Linked DNA regions of Homo sapiens: region 2 is linked to region 1. The links are contacts of gene promoters, found by promoter capture Hi-C in blood cells and fetal thymus (Javierre and others, 2016). All regions are on one chromosome and are shown on one strand. The core of a region is centred on a gene start or on the middle of the fragment in contact, and the rest is flanking DNA. Distances in the headings are between cores, read along the strand shown. Region 1 holds the start of ATP6V1H (ATPase H+ transporting V1 subunit H). Region 2 holds the start of BPNT2 (3'(2'), 5'-bisphosphate nucleotidase 2).

What was found. The method cuts DNA at HindIII sites, captures the fragments that hold promoters and counts their contacts. A CHiCAGO score of 5 or more calls a contact.
Region 2: a fragment that was not itself captured here is called in contact with the fragment with the promoter of ATP6V1H in region 1 in 2 of 17 cell types (total B cells and non-activated CD4 T cells); the score reaches 7.0 in total B cells.

What each region holds. Positions count from the first base shown.
Region 1 is chr8:53,840,127-53,846,110 of GRCh38, forward strand. ATP6V1H (ATPase H+ transporting V1 subunit H) reads right to left here and starts at 3,119. Exons shown (of 14, transcript NM_015941.4): 1 at 2,908-3,119; 2 at 1,452-1,599. The coding sequence starts at 1,564. RefSeq lists enhancers at 3,068-3,207, 4,505-4,554 and a silencer at 3,278-3,427. The HindIII fragment of the contact is 7,596 bases long and covers 1-5,984 here.
Region 2 is chr8:56,988,080-56,994,063 of GRCh38, forward strand. BPNT2 (3'(2'), 5'-bisphosphate nucleotidase 2) reads right to left here and starts at 5,788. Exons shown (of 5, transcript NM_017813.5): 1 at 5,120-5,788. The coding sequence starts at 5,506. RefSeq lists a silencer at 5,345-5,904. The HindIII fragment of the contact is 182 bases long and covers 3,271-3,452 here.

The DNA.
Region 1 (5,984 bases), core at 1,869-4,368:
TTCCAAGGGGTAGAATTACTTGTCTTTTTTATGTGCACCTGCCAGACCCTGTGCATCTTTCTATTGCCACAGTTAACATACTGAATTAGAGCCGGGCACGGTGGCTCACGCCTGTAATCCCAGCACTTTGGGAGGCCAAGAGGGGCAGATCACGAGGTCAGGAGTTCGAGACCAGCCTGGCCAACATGTTGAAACCCTGTCTCTACTAAAAATACAAAAAAATTAGGCGGGCAAGGTGTCAGGTGCCTGTAATCCCAGCTACTCGGGAGGCTGAGGAAGGAGAACTGCTTGAACCCGGGAGGCGGAGGATGCAGTGAGCCAAGACTGCCCCACTGTACTCCAGCCTGGGCAACAGAGTGAGACTCTGTCTCAAAAAAAAAAAAAAATAGTGAATTAAAATGATCTATTAATACATCTGACTTCCCTACTAGAGTTTTAGTTCCTTCAGGGACAGTACTCTGTATGGAATTTTTGTAGCCTCAAAGCCTGGAAAAATGCCTCAAACTTGGCAGGTAATCAATAAATGTTTGATGAGTGATTAAATTAACAGAAATTAAAGGATCATTTTTGTACATTATAGATCCCTCCTACAACAACACAAACTATTAATACTAATATAAAATTAACACTAATATAAAACTAGATTCCTCAATTTGTTTTTCAAAATGCATATGCAAATCTGAACTGAATTCCTTGGTAACTCAGTTATAAATATACCAAAATAAATATGAAGTCAATAAAATATGGTCAAGAATACATGAATGCTCACTTTATAGATAAATACAAAATACTGAAACATCAGCACATTAAATATTAATACATACAAGAAAGAAGGGGGAACTAAAATGTATTGTATTCAACATACTAATGCTTGTATTCTACTGTGCTAATAAATACATTATTTCAGCAACAAGCCTGTGGGGTATGTCTCCCCATTTCACATTTTACTTTATTGAGCCTCAGAGAAGTTAAGTGATTTGCTTAAGATCACCAAACTAATAGCAAGAACCAAAACTCAAATCCAAGTCTCTCAACTCAAATATCTGTGCTTCTTATTAGTTGTATGCACCACTCTAAAAAGGCCACCTGCCCCCATGCTGATTGCCAGGGCATATCAGACCAGTCTAGCAGGTTTTGCCCCTCATCCCCTTCCTCCCTCCGTTAGCCCAAGGACATTCCTCCTATGTTTCCCACTTATTCCAAAAGTACTTCCCCAGGCAGCCAGAGAAGGTCAAAAGCACCATAAGCCGCTCTGCTTCCCCACTAGGGCGCCAAGCTGTTTCCACCCCACTACACTTAACTCCCTAAGACAGCTAATTATTCTGAAGAGGAAGTGTTTCTTCCACATTTTTCAGTATTTTCCCTGTATTTCTCTCATAGAAGCATGACCATGAAAAAGTCTGATGCAAAAGCATATGACTGTCCATGATTCACAGCAAATTGGTACTTACTGAAGATAGGATTGCCAGTTGACTTTGTTTGCACGAACTTCTGCAGCCTTGGCAGCAATAATATTGGTGGGGACAGCAGCATCCACAGCACCTCGGATATCCATTTTGGTCATCTAAACTTCGTAATCTTGAATGTCTTTCAACAAATCTTCAATTTTGATGCAAGGTAAAAACAGAATACGAGGTGTTTCTTTTTTTTACAACTATTAATATTATGATTATGAATATCGTGATCACTTTAATCTCCCCAGGCATTCAACTCAAATATTAAATGTCCTAAGTCTGAAAGTATCATTATATTTCAAATATTGTCCACTGCTCCATAAAAGAGTTCTTTAGGCTTTTGCTTTTCTAGAAAAATTTTTTTCATTATTGGCACTAACACTGCAGTAAGATTTTTAAAGCAATCACCTAATATACTGAAATCAGAAATCATGATTAAATAGAATAGGTATAAATATGGGAAAAATTGTAAATTTATACAATTGTGGTTAACTTTTCTCATAGAGAAACAATAAGAATATGAATAGTACGGATAAGGCTAGTTTTATAAACATTTACTAAGCATCATTTTGAAGTGGCACATTAAAAATTCTAAGTCCTTTCGAAAATTACTCAAATTAAAATACACAAAGTGGGAACATAATTTCTTAGAAGACAGTGCTTTCCTTTTCAAACAAAATTCATAGTATTTGCAAAATCAAAATTCGGAGAGAAAGTTTTAGAACAAATACATATTACAATTTAGGTAAGCCAACAATGGCGGTCTGGCTGGACGACAAGAACCTACAATAATGAAATTCTATGTAATTCTCACTCCTAAACTTCCAGATACAAACGACTGATTTTAACACAAAGCAAAATACAGGTTGCCACTTGCAAAACATAAATTCACGGCCATGGCCACAAAGAAGTTAAAATCCTACCCAAAATTATATTCCGGGTTTCCAACGATCTTAATCAATTTGGAACTTAATCTCTGTATCTGAAGATTTGCTGTATAAACAACCCTGGGCAGCGCGAACGACAGGGCCCAGGAAAAAACAGGCTTCAACTGGGCCAGGCTGGAACTCTGCAGCCAAGGAGGCTCAGCCTCAGCGGCCCGTCCTGGCGTAGCTCAAGGTGTCTCTAGACAATTACCTAAGTCCCTGAACTACTCGCACCCCCAGCGATCCAGGGCCGTGGCCCAGTCCTGGAGAAGGTATACTTTTTACCCCTCCCCCTCCACTCTCCTGCCCGCCCCTGACGTTTCTTCCCCCTGCGAGAAAGGCTCCAGAATTTCGCTTAATAAACCTGGTTGAGGCCTGGAAGAAAAGCAATCTGGCAACCGGGGGCCGAAGAACAGGAGAGGACCAAGCGGCGAGACACCAGCACGCACCAGGCAAGCTGGAGAAACTGCAAGAGTCGCCTGACCTGGTCTGCAGCCTGAGACCAAACAACGCGAGGGCGGCCTTACCTCGCGAATCCTCGGGACCCCACAACGCACCCAAAGCCGGCAGGGAGGGTGGTCCGGGGCGCCGGGGACACAGCCGGGCTGGGGCGCCGCGTCAGAGCCAAGTAGGCGTCTCCTGTCAGGTCCAGAGGTCTGAGCAGTGGAGGGAGACTCCGGGAGCCGAAAGTGAAGCGGGTCCCGCACCAAGGAGACGTTGAGGGCCGCACAGGTAGAAGGAAGCCAGGGCGGCCGCAGTAGAATGACAGAGGCGCCGGTCACGTGATCGGAGGCACGTGACTGCTGCGGAAGGCGGAAGCCGGGAGACTCCAAAGCAGCAAGAGGAGGGGCGGGCGCTGCGGCGGGGCTTGTTCGGTGCGGACAACTGGATTCCCGAGTCCGTAACTTGGGCCCCGGAGCGACGCAAGGGTCGGGCCCCAGCCAGCCAGGGCAGGTGGGAGGCGGCGAGCGTGGCGGGCACGCTAAGACCCGCCGCCCCCAGACCTAGTGCCTCGCCTAGGGGAGGCCGAGGACCTCCGCCCGGAAGCAGCTAGCAGAGGCCAAAACGCTCTTATTGTAACCGTCATTCTTTTGAAAAGTTTGATTTCGCGCTTTCAAATTAATTTCCATTTGGATTTAACAGCTCCATGAAGCAGGCGTTCTTATTCTGATTTTAAATAGAAAACTCGGGCTGAGAAGTGGGTCTGAAAAGCTCTCTTAACCTAGGGTTGCACATTTAGCAAATAATAAATTCCATTGCAGTATTTACTTTTATACTAAAAAGTTATTCGTTGTTTATCTAAAATTCACATTTACAGGACGTCTGGTATTTTATCCAACAGTCCCATCTGGAGCCCAAATTTTCCCCTAGTCCAGGCCTCAGCAACTGTCTTTGCCTTAAAGTAAGAATGTACTGCCCTGGAGGTGAAGTATATATGATAGCATGTTTTCCTTAAAAAGCAATGAAAGGGGCCGGGCGCGGTGGCTCACTCCTGTAATCCCAGCACTTTGGGAGGCCGAGGCCAGTGGATCACCTGAGGTCTGGAGTTCGAGACCAGCTGACCAACATGGTGAAACCCCATCTCTACTAAAAATACAAAAAATTAGCTGGGTGTGGTGGCGCATGCCTGTAATCCCAGCTGCTTGGGAGGCTGAGGTAGGAAAATCACTTGAACCCAGGAGGCAGAGGTTGCAGTGAGCCAAGACCGCACCATTGTACTCCAGCCTGGGCAGAAAAAGCAAAACTCCGTCTCAAAAAGAAAAAAAAAAAATTCTTTGAAAGGGATTTATAACCAACCCATTTTTACTCGTAAAATTAAAGTCAGAATAATCAAAATCATGCATTGATTATGAATAAAGATATATAATAACAGTGTCAAAGATTGTACTAGGTCACTCATTCTGTCTTAGCCAGAAGTGAAAGTCTGTTGTTTTGAAAGCAAATCTAAGGGGAAAAACTTTCATAAAAGAGAAAAAGAAACCGATCGTGTACTAAGAAACTCCCAAAAGCTGAAACAGCATGTTTTCTGTGTAACTGAGCAAAGCTGGCAGTGAGGCCTGATCTTCGCATTTCCTTTCTGTATCACCTAAGCCACAGACTGGCGTGATACAGCGAGTCTCATCAGATTTCGGGAGGCTCTCCTCTTTTCCTAGAGGCACAAAGTTATGGAACAAAATCAGGAACAGTGCAGTGAGCAGAGGGGACTGCTTCACAGGCACCTGGGCTGGCGTTCTCCGAGCATCACAACATTACCAGACAATTTGCCTGGAGTAGGGAGAAGAGAAGAGGCAGGTACTCCCGGCATTATCTCTCTTAACATTATTTCTGTAACACTTCTATCGGAGATTTTTCTTGGTCCATTCAGGCTCCTGTAACAGTGCTGTAGACTGGGTGGCTTATAAACAACAGAAAGTCATTTTCTCACAGTTCTGGAGGTTGAAAGTTCAGAATTGGGGTGCTATCATGGTGAGGTTCTGGGAAGGATTGTCCCAGGTTGCAAACTGCTGTCTTCTCATTGTAGCTTCACATGGTGGAGAGGTGAGAGAGCTCTCTGGGGTCTCTTTCATAAGGACATTAATTTCATTCATGAGAGCTCCACCCTCATGACCTGATCATTTCCCAAAGGTCCCACCTCCTAATATCATCACCTTGGGAGTTAGGATTTCAACACAGGAATTTTGGGGAGACACAGACCATAGCGGTGATCTCAGTTACCTAATTATATAACATACCTGGGGTCCCCATACCCTGGGCCACAGACTGGTGTGGTCCATGGCCTGTTAGGAACCCGGCTGCACAGCAGGAGGTGAGCGGCGGGCAAGCCCCATTACCGCCTAAACTCTGCCTCCTGTCAGATCAGCAGCGGTAGTAGATTTTCACAGAAGCATGAACCCTATCGTGAACTGCACATTGCAAGGGATCTAGGTTGCACACTCTGTATGAGAATCTAATGCCTGATGAGCTGAGGTGGAACAGTGTCATCCTGAAACCAGCCCCATCACCTCCCACCCTGTCTGTGGAAGAATTGTCTTCCTCGAAACTGGCCCCTGGTACCAAAAGGGTTGGGGACTGCTGTATTATGACATAAGAAAGATAACCTTTGAGCTACTTTGTAATTTCTTTGAAATTGAGCTTCAGATTTGTTATTTAGAAATGACATAAGGGGAAGTTAGATGAATCTATATGGACAGGAGAAAATAATATTAATAATGTATTTATTAAGTTAATGTTCAATTCTTCACTAGAATAGGATTACATGTTTGGAGATGTAAACTAGGAATCTACCACTTAGGAATCATCAGAAGGTAGAAAATATATGACGTTTCAAAGGAATTTCTTCTGTCTGAAATATATGGAATGCTATAAACACCATCATTTCCAATCTTTTCTTTCCAAGTATGAATTGAACTTATATTTGCCCACAGAAGTAGAAGAGTTCTAGTCAAAGAAAATCCTATTCTAAAATATTTGTCATGAAAACTTACCACCCCCAAGTGAAGATTATGCTGCCAGCCTACCTTCAGTTACACAAGGACTTTGAGAAGTTTTTATAGCTGACTGAATAAATTATTAGTTTAATGGAAGAATGGTTTTTCCATTCTTT
Region 2 (5,984 bases), core at 2,112-4,611, 3.1 Mb after region 1:
CTCTTCCCACCTTTACAGAAACCTTTTACTATCAACTATTGTCTTTCAAATATAGCTCTATAAACAATTAAACATGCTGTAGTGTCTCATATCTTAAAAACAAATATACCAAAAAGAAAGCACAGAACCTTCTCTTAGGAAACATAATACACCTAACACCCCAGCCAACTTCCTTAAAAGCCCAATTTCTCACAAAACTTGTCTTTACTCACAGTCTCCATTTCCTCACCTCCTAATCATAGGTTGCCTGAGTTCAAATGCCAACTCCTCAATTTATTGGGTATATGAATAATTTAGGCTAGTCACCTAAACTTTCTGAGCTACAATTACCTCATTGGTAAAAAGGGACAATGATCTAGCTCCCTGTAAGGTTCTTAAGAAGACTGAAAGAGAAAAGGTAAAACAAACTTAGTACAGTGCTTAACACAGAGTAAGCATTTAATAAAGGTTGGTTGCTACTATTCTTGTTAAATGATTGTTTTCAGTCTTCATTATCCTTGGTTCTAGGCCCTGATATTCCCCTTTCATGTTATATTCTCTCCCTAACCAATTCTGTCCACAACCAGTTTCAATTAACATCACAACACCGATGACTCGCAGATTTGTATTTTCAGTTCAGATGTTTCTTCAGACCTTCAGACTCATATATTCAACTGACTCTTTGACAGCTAACCTTGGACATATCAAAGGCATCTCTAACATAGCAAGTCTAAAATGGCATTCATAATCTGTCCTCCAACTTAACCACCACTCCCCTTCACCAGCAACAAAACCCCAATTGTGAAAGCTACAGAGGAGTTATTTTTGACATATCCCTAAAAATTCTTTCACTTCCTTCTACATCTATCTTCTCTACAACCATAACCCTAATTCAAAAGATATAAGCTCTCACCTGAAAAAGGGCCTCCTAACTGGTCTCCCTGTATTTACTTTGCTCCCCTCCAAACCATCCTCCAAGCAACTACTCTGAGTCCTTCCATTCATTTTTAACACTGTAGTTAAGAGTATACTTGTTACATCTGCTATACCGCCTTATATAGAGAATTAGACAGACCTGAGATGATTCTCTGACCATTATGTCAATCTCAGTGACTCTAAGATTATTCTCATGGTGAAACCCCGTCTCTACTAAAAATACAAAAAATTAGCTGGGCGTGGTGGCGGCACCTGTAGTCCCAGCTACTTGGGAGGCTGAGGCAGGAGAATGGCATGAACCTGGGAGGCAGAGCTTGCAGTGAGCTGAGATTGTGCCACTGCACTCCAGCCTGGGCGACAGAGCGAGACACCATCTTTAAAAAAAAAAAAAAAAAAAAATTCTAGCTGGACAATCTTTGGCAAATTATTTAGCCTCTCCAAGTCTTTATCTGAAAAACAGAGGCTGTAGTACTTAACCTCCTTTGTTGTTGTGAAGATAAAATTAATAATGTCATTAAGAAGTTTAATTCAATTTTTGTGGCTTGCAGAAGGCTATGCAAATGTTAGCTAGTAAAACAAGCTCAGCATAACTTCCCCACTGCTTGAGTCCTGGTCCTCATCTCTCCCATGGCCTGTTTTAACAGTCTCTAACTAGTTCCTATCTACCTCCAAATGCCCAAAGCCCAAAGTATGGCTTATTGCAGGCCTCAAGAAAAGTCAGCTAAATCTGGCCTTCTTTTAGTATTCTACTAGTAAACCATGGACTAGGTCCAAATTCCTTTGAGCTTGGAATATGACCTAGCCCCTACCTACCTTTCCAATCTCTTCCACAATAATTCTCCCAAGTGCATTTTACTCAAACTCATTAGATTACAAGAATTAGCTGTCCTACTATCTCTCTTGGGCCTGTTCCTTTGAACTAGATTCTTTTCCTCTGTTTTCAGTGCTTATGTCTACACCAATTACTAGTTATTCTGATTTTACAGAAGAGGAAACTATGGCTCAAAAAAGTTAAATGACTGGCCAGTACCACCTAGGCTGGTGACTGCACAACATGTCAATGCAAGTGCTCTGTGCACTATATTAGTGCTTCTCAAACTTTTCTGGGACATACTTCTGTTGAAAGAGAGAAGCTTAACTTCCATCTTATAGGTCAAGGAAGGCACAGACCCAAGTGGCTGCTACCAGCTTGGAGTACCATGCTTTACCTTCAAATAAGTCATTGTCAAAACTTTGAACAAATCAAGTTGAGGACAGGAGCCCCTCAAACAGACAGTCCCCTGTACATTAAATCAAAACTATAAATCTCAGTTTGTCTGTTCTGTGGCTGCAAACCCACTCCACAAAAGTATCTTCAGCCTTCATTTTCATTGTTACCTGCAAGGATAAAGAGACAGTGCCATACAAATGGCTGGAGTTACTATTACTTTGACACAATGAAGTCAAGCATTGCCAAAGTGTTTAGGAAGAGGAGACTAGCTGCCCAGAGGACTCTCTGGGATCTCTAACCTGAAGAAAACTGAAGACAAAAGGAAATCCAGGGAGCCTAGGTGAAATCTGAGTTTTGTTAGGATAGCACTCACTTCTCTGGAGTATGATTCCTCAACTTGGGCATCAATTGACAAATGGAGCAGATAATTCTTCGTCATAGGGGGCTGTCCTGTGCATTATAGGATGTTTACCCTCTACCTACTAGATGCCAGTAGCATCCCACCCCTGGTTGTGACAATCAAAAATGTCTTCCGACGTTGTCAAATGTCAGTTAGGGGACAAAACTGTCTCCAGTTGAGTGCTCTAGGATAACCCCTGGTATATCCTTTTACTGAGGAGTGAACATTACATACGAAAGCTCAGACTTCAGACTCTACATAGGAAAGTAGTGGGAGAAAACAGATCTTTCTACATTTACATAGGGCACTAGGATAAAAGAAAGAAGTATCTGTTGCTTCTCAATGGTCTTTTTCCACTAGGAAGTAAACTAAGTGGGATATAATTTAAGTTTCTTACCAAGAAATTTGGGGTGAGGCTTCAAAATTAACCAGGGATTTAAGACTGTACTTCTGGGCATTAGGAGAGGGGAAGGCAAAAAAGGAGAAAGACTCCTTTTAGGTTGATTCTCCACTTAGTTGGCTACAATATTTGGCCTCTAGCCTATAACACAGGGGTATAAGGAGATCGCTCAACATGACACCATCCCTACTTTGACACTGTATAAATGATCACAAACCTCTTCTATTCCTTCAGTCATGACCCAACATGAATACTACAGAAGCACATGCAAACATTCAAATAGTCACAAGAAAACAAGAAGTTGTTTTATATTAAGCCAGAGACTTCAACATCTGCAATTCCAAAAGCTTAGCTTTTATGTTAATAAAATGCAGCTCACTGCCCTTGGCAGCCATTCCCTTATTGTTTGCTAATAAATGAGAATGCACACACATACAGATGTGTTTTCAACATTTAAGATACTTTTGTTTTTACTTAAAAAAAGAAAAATCAACTCTGCTTGCTGTATTTCACTATTACTGCTTTTAAGCTTCTACAATTATAAGTTTTAAATAGCCTTCTAAAAATCTAGCTAAAATGTGGGATAGTTCATATAAGCTGGAGTGTCACGAGCCTCAGATTTCCCGTTTGTATAGTAGGCAGAAATAAAATTTACTTCTTAAAGTTGCTGTTAAGGATCAAATGAAGTCCTGTGTAGCCAGTATTTGGGCATGTAAAATATATTCAATAAATGGTTATTATTAGTACTGTTATAACCATTAAATAGCAACTTCTCTGAATCTCCTGTTTCCTCTATAAATTCTTGGGGAAGGAAACACGTATGTTTTGGAAAGGGGGTAAAATATTTCATAAACACACCTTACATCTAGATGCAAAAAAATTTAAGTATTATTTGTGATGATAAAAACAGAGTAGGGAAGAAGAAAAAGTGGAAATATTCTGTGTTTTAAGTAGAAATTTGAAAAAAAAAATTCTAACGTTAATTACATCTGGTATCCAGTAGCTCATGTTAGGAAATACAATGTTCCTTTCCACTGGAAAAAGAAAAAGACGAAAGAAAAGGGAGGAAGAGAGGAGAATAAAAAACAAAACCAAAGCAATATTATGATAGACTGGAAGAAGCCTTATGCAAAATACATAACTAAACAATGACAATATTCTCCTAACTCTTTCAAGATCAGCAGTAAAAGGTCAGTCACCTTCCAAAGAAGCCTGGGTTTGCACATCACTGTTTATCTAATAAAATTCCAGTGAAGACAATTTTTCTTCCCAGTAGCCAAAACTACAGTTAGGTGAGTTAAGATATACGTTAATAAGGTGCTGCTACGCTATGCTGAGCTCTTCCTCAACAAAATTTGCAGTTTCTGGAACTGCAAATTTTAAATATGCTTTATTCAACTCAATAGCAGCTCCAGTGAAATGATGAATTCAAAAAGTATTAATAACAAATCCAAAATGTCTGGATTTCCTTAAGAAAATGTCAACTCCCTTCCCAGAAACCTACCCAAAGAAAAGCCAAATGTTATTTAATTCTTATTCTCTGGAGTAAATATGGATCTTTAATCAAGGGCCAGGTAGGACCAACAGCTGGTATATTTCTAAGTACCTCCTTAAAGGGCCCGCAAACTATAAACTTTAGAGCGTCCTGACAAAAAGACAGCGAAATGAGCATACTCATCCCCCACCCCCCCACCCCGACTCCCGCGAGCGCACACACGCACACACAAATGCCCCGCACACTAACAGCTCTGCAACAAGACTCGGTCTTTCAGCTGGCTACTGGCAGGCCACCCAGAAAATGTGTACTCCAGTTTCGACCCTTCTAGGGATGAAATCAAGGAAGGATAGAGAGTCTTGGTGGATTTTAGCCAACCCCTTAATTCTACAGAGGAGCCTGAAGCTGCGGGTGCAATTAACTTTGTCAGCCTTTTCGTTTCAAGGCCTTCTGATCCCAGGTACACACGGCGCACACCCGACCCAGGACGAGCCAAAAGGGCACGGGCCCTGAGTCAGACTACGTGCAACCTCACCCAGCTCCTCTGCTGTCTGTCTGACCTTGTGCACGTTAACTTCTGCGTCTCAATTTCCACATCTACAAAATGGAACCAGAAGCTCCACATCCCATACTGTTAAGAGTCGACGGGCCGAGACGCGCTACCCGGCTCGAGTGGGCGCTCCGCCCGTGGGCTCCCACCTGGACGCTGGGGAAGGCGGTCTTGAGCAGGTAGAACATCTTGCGGTTGGACAGCACGTCGCCGCTGGTCATCTTGTCCTCGGCTCCCTCGCGCGTCTTCCCCTTGGACTTCTCGTGGAGGACGTTGCTCTCGCGGACGCGCCTCACCTCGTCGCCGCCGCGGACTGCGGCCAGCACTGACACAGCCAGCATCTCGCGCAAGTCCACGGTGCCCCCATCGGCCGCGGCCGCGGGCCCCGCCGCGCCGCCGCCAGGCTCGCCGCCCAGGCCGAAGAGGCTGAAGCGGCCGGCCAAGAAGCCCGAGTAGAGGTGGTAGAGCACGCCGAGCCCCAGCAGGCAAAACACTGCCACCCCCAGTGGGGAAAGGCGGATGCCCATGGGGGCCATGGCGTGGGAAGCCGGGCGCTCCGGGCTGCGGCTCTCACAGGCCTCCAGCGCCCGCCGCCGCCGCCGCCGCAGCCGCCGCGCTCCGGGCCAGGCGCCGCGCGGGCTACACTGGCGCCCGCTCCCCGGCCCCGGTGCGCCCCATCACTCCCTCCCAGGAAAGGCCGAGTTGCGCCGCGAAGACCACCAACGCCGCCCCGCGCGCCTGACTCGCCAGGCAGCGCGCTCTAGGTTCTTCCGCCGGCCGGCTGGTCCGACTTCCACGTTAGCCTACGGCCGCGAGGTGAAAGGGGAGCGTGGGTGTGTATCCGGGTTACGCGACGGGGCGGGGCGAGGGCGAGGGCGAGGGGCGGGGAGAGCTGGGCACCTCCCCTTGGGGCGGGGCGGGGCGGGACAGGAGGCGCTGGACTGAGCTGCCTTCCTTGGTCTGGGTGGGAAGGTATTCCTGGAAGTGGCGAGCAGCAATCCGCACAGGACAGTG